2 separate regions of the Homo sapiens genome follow, and region 2 is linked to region 1. The links are contacts of gene promoters, found by promoter capture Hi-C in human tissues and cell types (Jung and others, 2019). All regions are on one chromosome and are shown on one strand. The core of a region is centred on a gene start or on the middle of the fragment in contact, and the rest is flanking DNA. Distances in the headings are between cores, read along the strand shown.

Region 1 (3,877 bases), core at 2-2,501:
GTAGACAACATAGTTGGGTAAAAAAAAAACAGGAAACACTTCTAGATAACTCCTAGATCAAAGAAGTCGAAAATATTTCTTAGTAAAGGAGAATATTTAATGGCTAGTCTGTGGGACATACAGCAAAAGCTATACTTAGCAGGAATTAAAAGCCTTAGATATCTTTGTTGTCGTGGAGTCTAAAATTAAAGAAATTTTTATTTATTTATTTTTTATTTTTAGAGACGAGATCTTGCTATGTTGCCCAGACTGGTCTTGAGCTCCTGGGCTTAAGCAGTCCACCCACCTTGGCCTCCTAAAGTGCTAGGATTACAGGCATGAGCCACCGTGCCCAGCCAAGATATTAATACTCATAATATCCACAAAAAAGATAGGAAGATAGAATTAATATAGGTAAAAAGTAGAGCTAATGAAATAGAAAACAAAAATTGTTGGAGAGGATAAATCCAGGCCAGGCATGGTGGCTCACACCTGTAATTTCAGCACTTTGAGAGACCAAGGCGAGAGGAATGCTTGAGCTCAGGAGTTTGAGACCAGCCTCGGGAAAATAGGGAGACCCTGTTTCTACAGAAAATTTTAAAATTAGCCAAGTGTAGTGGCCTGTGCCTGTGGTCCCAACTACTCAGGAGGCTGTCATGGGAGGATCTCTTGAGCCCAGGGGTTCAAGGCTGCAGTGAGCTATGATTGTACCACTGCCCTCCAGCCTGGTCAACAGAACAAGACCCTATCTCAAAAAAAAAAAAAAAAGAATAAATCCAAAAGCTATACTTTGAAAAGACAATAAAATAAGAAAACTCCTGAAGAGTCTAATTAAGAAGAAATAAGCAGCTGCGCACAGTGGCTGGTGTCTGTAATTCTAGCTATGTGGGAGGCTGAGGAGGGAAGATCACTTGAAACCAAGAGTTCAAGACCAGCCTGGGCAACATAGCGAGACCCCCCCCCACCCACATCTTTTAATTAAATAAGTGAATGAAAAAAGAGAAAGCTAAAATATAGAAGATTAAGAAAGAAAACGTACTCATAGATTAAAAGAGACTAAAATAATTTTTTGTTGGGTGCCATGGCTCACATCTGTAATCCCAACACTTTGGGAGGCAGAGGCAGGAGGATTGCTTGACCCTAGGAATTTGAGACCAGACCAGGCAACAGGTGAAATCCTGTACAAAATGAAATAATTAGCCAGGCCTGGTAGCATGTGCCTGTAGTCCCAGCTACTCGGGAGGCTGAAGTGGGAGTATGACTTGAGCCCAACAGGCAGAACTTGCAAGGAGCCAAGATTGTACCACTGCACTCCAGCCTTGGAGATAGAGCCGGACCCTGTCTCAAAAAAAAACGAAGAAAGTGAAAAGGCAACCCACAGAATGTGAGAAAACAGTTGAAATCATACATCTGATAAGAAGCTTTATCCAAAATATATAAAGAACTCTTACAACTCAATAATAAAAATACAATCCAATTTAGGCCTGGCTTGGTAGCTCATGCCTGTAATCTTAGCACTTTGAGGGGCCTAGACTAGAGGATTGCTTGAGCTCAGGAGTTTGAGACCAGCCTGGGCAACATAGTGAGACCCCATCTCTATTTAAATAAATAAATAAAACATAGTGAGACTCTGTCTCTATTTAAATAAATAAATAAAATACGACCCAATTTAAAAATGATCAAAGGATCTGAAAAGATATTTTTCCAAAGAACAGTCATGTACTGCGTAAGGACGTTTTGGTTAACAACGGACCACATATACACAGGGGGTCCCATAGGATTTTTATGGAGGCCAGGCATCGTGGCTCACACCTATAATTCCAGTGCTTTGGGAGGCCAAGGCAGGTGGGTCATTTGAGGCCAGGAGTTTGAGACCAGCCTGGCCAACATGGTGAAACCGCATCTCTACAAAAATTACAAAAGTTAGCCAGGCATGATGGCGCGTGCCTGGAGTCCCAGCTACTGAATCGCTTGAACCCAGGAGGCGGAGGCTGCAGTGAGCTGAGGTCACGCCACTGCGCTCCAGCCTGGGCGACAGAGCGAAACTCTGTCTCAAAAAAAAAAAAAAAAAAAATTGTAATGGAGCTGGAAAATTCCTATTGCCTAGTGACATTGTAATGTAGCACAACACATTACTCACATGTTTGTGGTGATGCTAATGTAAACAAACCTGCGCTGCCATTCCTGTTAAAGGGTAGTACATATAATTATGTACAGTAACATAATACTTGATAATGATAACAGACCATTAGGTTGCTGTCTTATGTATTTACTATACTATACTCTTTATTGTTATTTTATTTTTTTGAACCAGAATCTCACTTTGTCACCCAGGCCAGAGTGCAGTGACCTTGGCTCACTGCAGCTTCAACCTCCTGTGCTCAAGGGATTCTCTTGCCTCAGCCTCCCAAGTAGCTAGGATTATATGCACAAGCCACCACACCTGGCTAATTTTTAAATATTTCTTAGAGATGGGGTCTCGGTATGTTGACCAGGCTTGGTCTCAAATTCCTGGCCTCAAGCAATCCTATTTTGCCTCTCAAAGTGCTGGGATTGCAGGTGCAAGCCACCATGCCCAGCCCTTATCGTTATTTTAGAGTATATTCCAACTTATAAATAAAACAAGTTAACTGTAAAACAGCCTCAGGCAAGTCCTTCAGGAGTTATTCCAAAAGAAGGCATTGTTATCATAGGAGATGATAGCTCCATGGGTGTTATTATTTCTCAAGACCTTCCAGTAGGACAAGAAGTGGAGGTGGAAGACAGTGATATTAATGATCTTGACCCTGTGTAGGCCTAGGCTAATGTGTGTGTTTGTATTTTAGGTTTTTGTTGTTGTTGTTGTTGTTTGTTTGTTTGTTTGTTTTGAGATGGAGTTTCTCTCTTACTGCCCAGGCTGGAGTGCAGTGGCATGATCTTGGCTCACTGCAACCTCCGACTCCCAGGTTCAAGCGATTCTTCTGCCTCAGCCTCCCAAATACCTGGGATTACAGGCACATGCCACCACACCTGGCCAATTTTTGTATTCTTAGTAAAGACAGGGTTTCACCCTTTTGGCCAGGCTGGTCTCGAACTCTTGACCTCGTGACCCGCCCACCTCAGCCTCCCAAAGTGCTGGGATTACAGGCATGAGCCACCACGCCTGGTGCGTGAATATACTTTAAAATTCGTTTAATTGTATACTTAAATGGATGGATTGCATTGTGTGTGGATTATATCTCCATAAAGCTGTTTAGAAACAAATCAATTACTGGAGAATTATATATTTGAATGTGAAAGGTAAATCAAGGATAGAAATTGGGAAGATGGGCACACAACTCTTTTGGGCCTCAGCCTCATTACCATGATAGCTGCCAGTAGAATCCTCTTGCCTCAGCTATAGATAGGGAGGAGAAAGGAGCTTAGGTGTGCATCCAGGGGCTGATACTCTTTCTACTTTTCTTATAAAGGGAAAGTAGAAAGAGTATTAGGAGACCAAGACCAAACAGAGGAGAGCAGAGGGGAAGGATAGGAACAGGGAGGATATTGGCAGGGTGAAGGAGGGAGAGGATGCTTTAGGAATTGATCCTTGACAAATTGATGTTATGAATCTTCCCCTTTCCTCCCAGGTCTTGCTGAAGTCAGGAGGGGTAGTGATAGGAAAATATATCTGGGAACAAACCTATCAAAATGGAAAGAGTTCAGGGTACTTCGGGAAAGAAGTTGAAAATCCCAAAATAGGAAAAGGCCAAAGAGATGGATTATATGTGGACCATGGAAAATGAGGTTCGTGGCTGTGGGCATCTGTTTCAGGATTTTTTTTTTTTTTTTGAGATGGAGTTTCGCTTTGTCATCCAGGCTGGAGTGCAGTGGCACGATCTCGGCTCACTGCAACCTCCACCTCCTGGGTTCATGCCAT
Region 2 (4,030 bases), core at 1,531-4,030, 130 kb after region 1:
CGCCTGCCAGGTTCAAGCGGGACTACAGGCATGTGCTACCACATCTGACTTTTTTTTTTTTTTGAGACAGAGTCTCACTCAGTCACCCAGGCTGAAGTGCAGTGGCATGATCTCAGCTCACTGCAACCTCTGCCTCCTTGGTTCAAGCGATTCTCCTGCCTCAGCCTCCCGAGTAGCTGGGACTACAGGTGTGTGCCACCACGCCCAGCTAATTTTTGTATTTTCAGTAGGACAGGGTTTCACCATGTTAGCCAAGCTGGTCTCGAACTCCTGAACTCAAGTGATCCACCCACCTCGGCCTCCCAAAGTGCTGGGATTACAGGCATGAGCCACCGTGCCCGGCTCAGCTCTTGTCTCTATATTCCAGTGAGTTATATTTTGCTCTGTTTTAACTAAAAAATGACAACATAAAAATCCTTCCATACTTTATTCAACTGAAGAATTTTAATGTTTTTCATTTATCATTGTAAAAACCAAGGACAATTGTATAACTTAAAAAAATCCTTCTAATCAGTGGATGATTTTTGTACATAGCTTTCACATGTAGGGTAATCTGTCTTTAAGTAGGGATAAATTACTTAAAAATAAACCAAATCATGGCTCACTGCAGCCTCAACCTTCTGGGCTCAAGCGATCCTCCCACCTTGGCCTCCCAAAGTGCTTAGATTACAGGCGTGAGCCACTGTGTCTACAAAGTCTTGGGGTTTAAATAAATTTGGTTAAAATGAAAAAAAGTAAAATTGACTTTAATTTGTATTTCCTGTATTTCTAATGATATACTAGGCATCATGTTATATGTTTATTGGTCATTTCTATTTCCTCTTTTGTGAAGGGCCTATTCAAGTCAGTTACCCCTGTTTTTTCCATTGTTCATCTTTTTCTCACTGAGTTGTAGGAGCTCCTGGGCATCAATCTTTTGTTAGTTTTTTTTTTTTTTTTTTTTTTTGAGACGAAGTATTGCTCTGCCCCAGGCTGGAGTGCAGTGGCCCAACCAATCTCGGCTCACTGCAAGCTCCGCCTCCCAGGTTCACGCCATTCTCCTGCCTCAGCCTCCCGAGTAGCTGGAACTACAGGCGGCCCCCACCACGCCCGGCTAATTTTTTGTACTTTTAGTAGAGACGGGGTTTCACTGTGTTAAGCCAGGATGGTCTCGATTTCCTGACCTCGTGATCCGCCCGCCTCGGCCTCCCAAAGTTCTGGGATTAGCAGCGTGAGCCACCGCGCCCGGCCCTTTCGTCAGTTTTAACACATCCTTTGTTAAGCATGAATGTGTTTTATCTCTCTGGCTAACTTGTTAGGTCAGTGGGTAAGAGGGCAGGGGTAGGAACTACAGAATAATAAATTAGACCAGTTAAGGAACGTTTAGGATTACAACTTCCTGCTTCCCTTATAGCTCTCTCCACGTCTGTCAAAGTGTTGGAACGGCAGCATCCCCTATAAAGGCCCCTCTTAAAAAGTGAAGATTATTACCCTCCCATGGGAGGGAAGGCTACCTACAGGCTGTTTTTGTTTTGCTTTATTTTCTAGAAAACCAATCACAGGCCGGATGCGGTGGCTCACGCCTGTAATCCCAGCTCTTTGGGAGGCCAAGGCGGGTGGATCACCTGAGGTCGGGAGTTCGCCACCAGCCTGACCAAAATGGAGAAACGCCGTCTCTACTAAAAATACAAAATTAGCCGGGCGTCGTGGCGCAGGCCTGTAATCCCAGCTACTCAGGAGGCTGAGGCAGGATAATCGCTTGAACCTGGGAGGCGGAGATTGCGGTGAGCGGAGATCGCGCCATTGCGCTCCGGCCTGGACAATAAGAGCGAAACTCCATGTCCAAAAAAAAAAAAAAAAAAGAAAAGAAAAAAGAAAACCAATCACAACAAGGCAGATAAAGAAGGATGAGTTGTCAGATTTTGATAACTGCGGATGAGGGGCGTGGACACACGGTTGGGAACTCGCAGCCGCTCATTGGTGGCTGGTGCGGGGGAAGTTGTTTCATTTGCCCCAGGTGTTGCCCAGTGACCTCCTGCGCGTGCGCCGCGTCTGTCCAGCTGCGCGGGAAGCTCAGGGGAGGGAAGGCCAGGTTCCATCCATTCAGTCACTCCAGACCTGGCACCCAGCCAAGCGCGCGGTTCCTTTACAGACTTTCCTGCGGGTCCACAGAAATGCAAGGATCCGCCTCTGTGCTGGAATTAGAGTCTGGGAGGGGGAATGCACAGTGCGCCCTGGGTGGTATTTTAGTTGTCGCCTTCAGGGCTAGCTCCGAGCCTCGTGCCCCGGCCTCCTCAGCGCTTAAGGAATCTCTGGAGCGCATGTCTTGGCGAGGGGAAGTGGGGCCCCGTTGAAGCTGTCGAGGCGTCTCTGAGAGGGGTGGGCTGGGGCCTGGAGAGGCCTCCGTGAGGACGCCGTTTGCTCTGGGCTCTGCCTGGCAGGGGACTTTGGAACCTGGCCTGAAGTGTTCAAGAAGCGGGCGCGGGGGCAACACGCGCGCGGGGACGCAGTAAGATCACAGGCTGCAAAGAAAACAGCACTAAGCGTCCTGGAGGACGCTGGAGCTTCAGGATAGTGTCCTTCCAGGTCGTGGGACCGCCCCCTCCTCCCCGCACTCCACCTTCCCGCAACTGGATCACTCGGCGGAAGCCTCAGGTGGGCCCCGGGGTCCAAGTCCGCCGCCGGGAGGGCGGGGGCGGGCCCCGAACCGCCGACTGCAGGGCGCGTCACGGCAGCCGCTCCTGATTGGCGGCCACGGCGGTCACGGGCAAGGTGCCCCGGGATTGACGCCGCCTGTGGCCAGAGCCGGAGTAACGGGACTCCCAGCTGCGCGTCGCAGTCCCGACGCGAGAAGGGCTGGAGTCGGCGTCCAGCCTAGAGCCCCCGGTGGGAGCCAGGCCGGGACGCGTGCACCATGCCCTACCTGCTCATCAGCACCCAGATCCGCATGGTGAGTACCGGCCGCCTGGCGACTTGGAGCCGGGACCAGGCCCTAGGGGGCTGCGACTGCACCTTCATGCCTCCCTCCTGGGCTGCACCCACCGGGGACTGGACCGGGAACCCGCCCAGACACGCCCCCTTGGCCGGGGAGAGGGAGTGGAGAAGCGGGCTCAGCTCGGCTTCCGGGACTCAGCGAGCTCTGGCCGGCCTGAAGCCTTTATTGCCGCGAAGGGGCCCGGGTACGTGCGTCCCGGCAACAGGGCGACCTCCGGGCGCTTCCGGCTCCTGTCCTACCTGTCGGCGGGAGAGACCCAGGGAGCCCTGGCCTCACGCGCAGCACCTAGTGCCCTGCACAGAGCCGCTCCGCAGGGGAAAAAAGGGCGAATAACCTGAGAGAAAGAGGTTTGGAAAAGATAAGGACCTGCCAAGGCGCTAAAACCCCGGTGCCAAGTCCTTGACCCATAAACAGCAACTAGCTGCACCCTTAGGCACTTCCAGGAAGGGCTATCCCTGAAGCTTTAGGGAAGGAAGAAAAGAAAGAACACCCTGCTTGGAAAAAAGGAAGGCGAGAAGGGGCTGTGCAGTTAGAGGTGGGAACACCATGAGTTAGAAGTCACGTTCCTTTCTCTGGGCGCAGTTTCCTTATCTGTAAAAAGGTTCTGATTGCCCCTCAGGAGTCCCCTTTTAGCTTCAGAAAGACATGACGGGCAGCAAGGTGCTCTCTGCCCTTGCTCACTGCCCAGTGCTGGGGTGAACCAGCAAAGGGTACACAACCCCCTTGGTGGGTTCACCACGCAACAGAGAGCTCTTGCAGAGCCCTGGGCAGCGGTTTGTGAAGCAGCCATCTGCTCAGCTGCCAAAATGTGGATTCCTGGGTCCCTTCCCAGACCTCCTAAAACTCTGTCTGGGGCTTGGGAACCCATACTTGGAAATGGCCCCCCAAAGTGATTCTTATTTCTTAAAAGATATGGCTTTATTGATATGTAATGTGCATACCATAAATTCTTTGATTTAAAGTGTACAATTCAGTGTTGTTGTTTCTTTAGTGTACTCAGAGTTGTGCAACCATCACCATAATCAGTTTTAGAACATTTCTAATACCCCAAAAGGA

What was found. The method cuts DNA at HindIII sites, captures the fragments that hold promoters and counts their contacts. A contact is called where the count stands out against the background at its distance.
Region 2: the fragment with the promoter of GCHFR here is called in contact with a fragment that was not itself captured in region 1 in 1 of the 25 tissues and cell types used here (thymus).

Annotation. Positions count from the first base shown.
Region 1 is chr15:40,631,278-40,635,154 of GRCh38, forward strand. The region is part of intron 13 of KNL1 (kinetochore scaffold 1); the gene reads left to right. Among named protein-coding and RNA genes, the nearest start is that of KNL1, 39 kb to the left of the region's middle. The HindIII fragment of the contact is 5,341 bases long and covers 1-3,877 here.
Region 2 is chr15:40,761,288-40,765,317 of GRCh38, forward strand. GCHFR (GTP cyclohydrolase I feedback regulator) reads left to right here and starts at 2,781. Exons shown (of 3, transcript NM_005258.3): 1 at 2,781-2,929. The coding sequence starts at 2,894. DNAJC17 (DnaJ heat shock protein family (Hsp40) member C17) reads right to left here. Exons shown (of 11, transcript NM_018163.3): 11 at 3,874-4,030. RefSeq lists a silencer at 2,345-2,794 and an enhancer at 2,461-3,326. The HindIII fragment of the contact is 4,829 bases long and covers 1-4,030 here.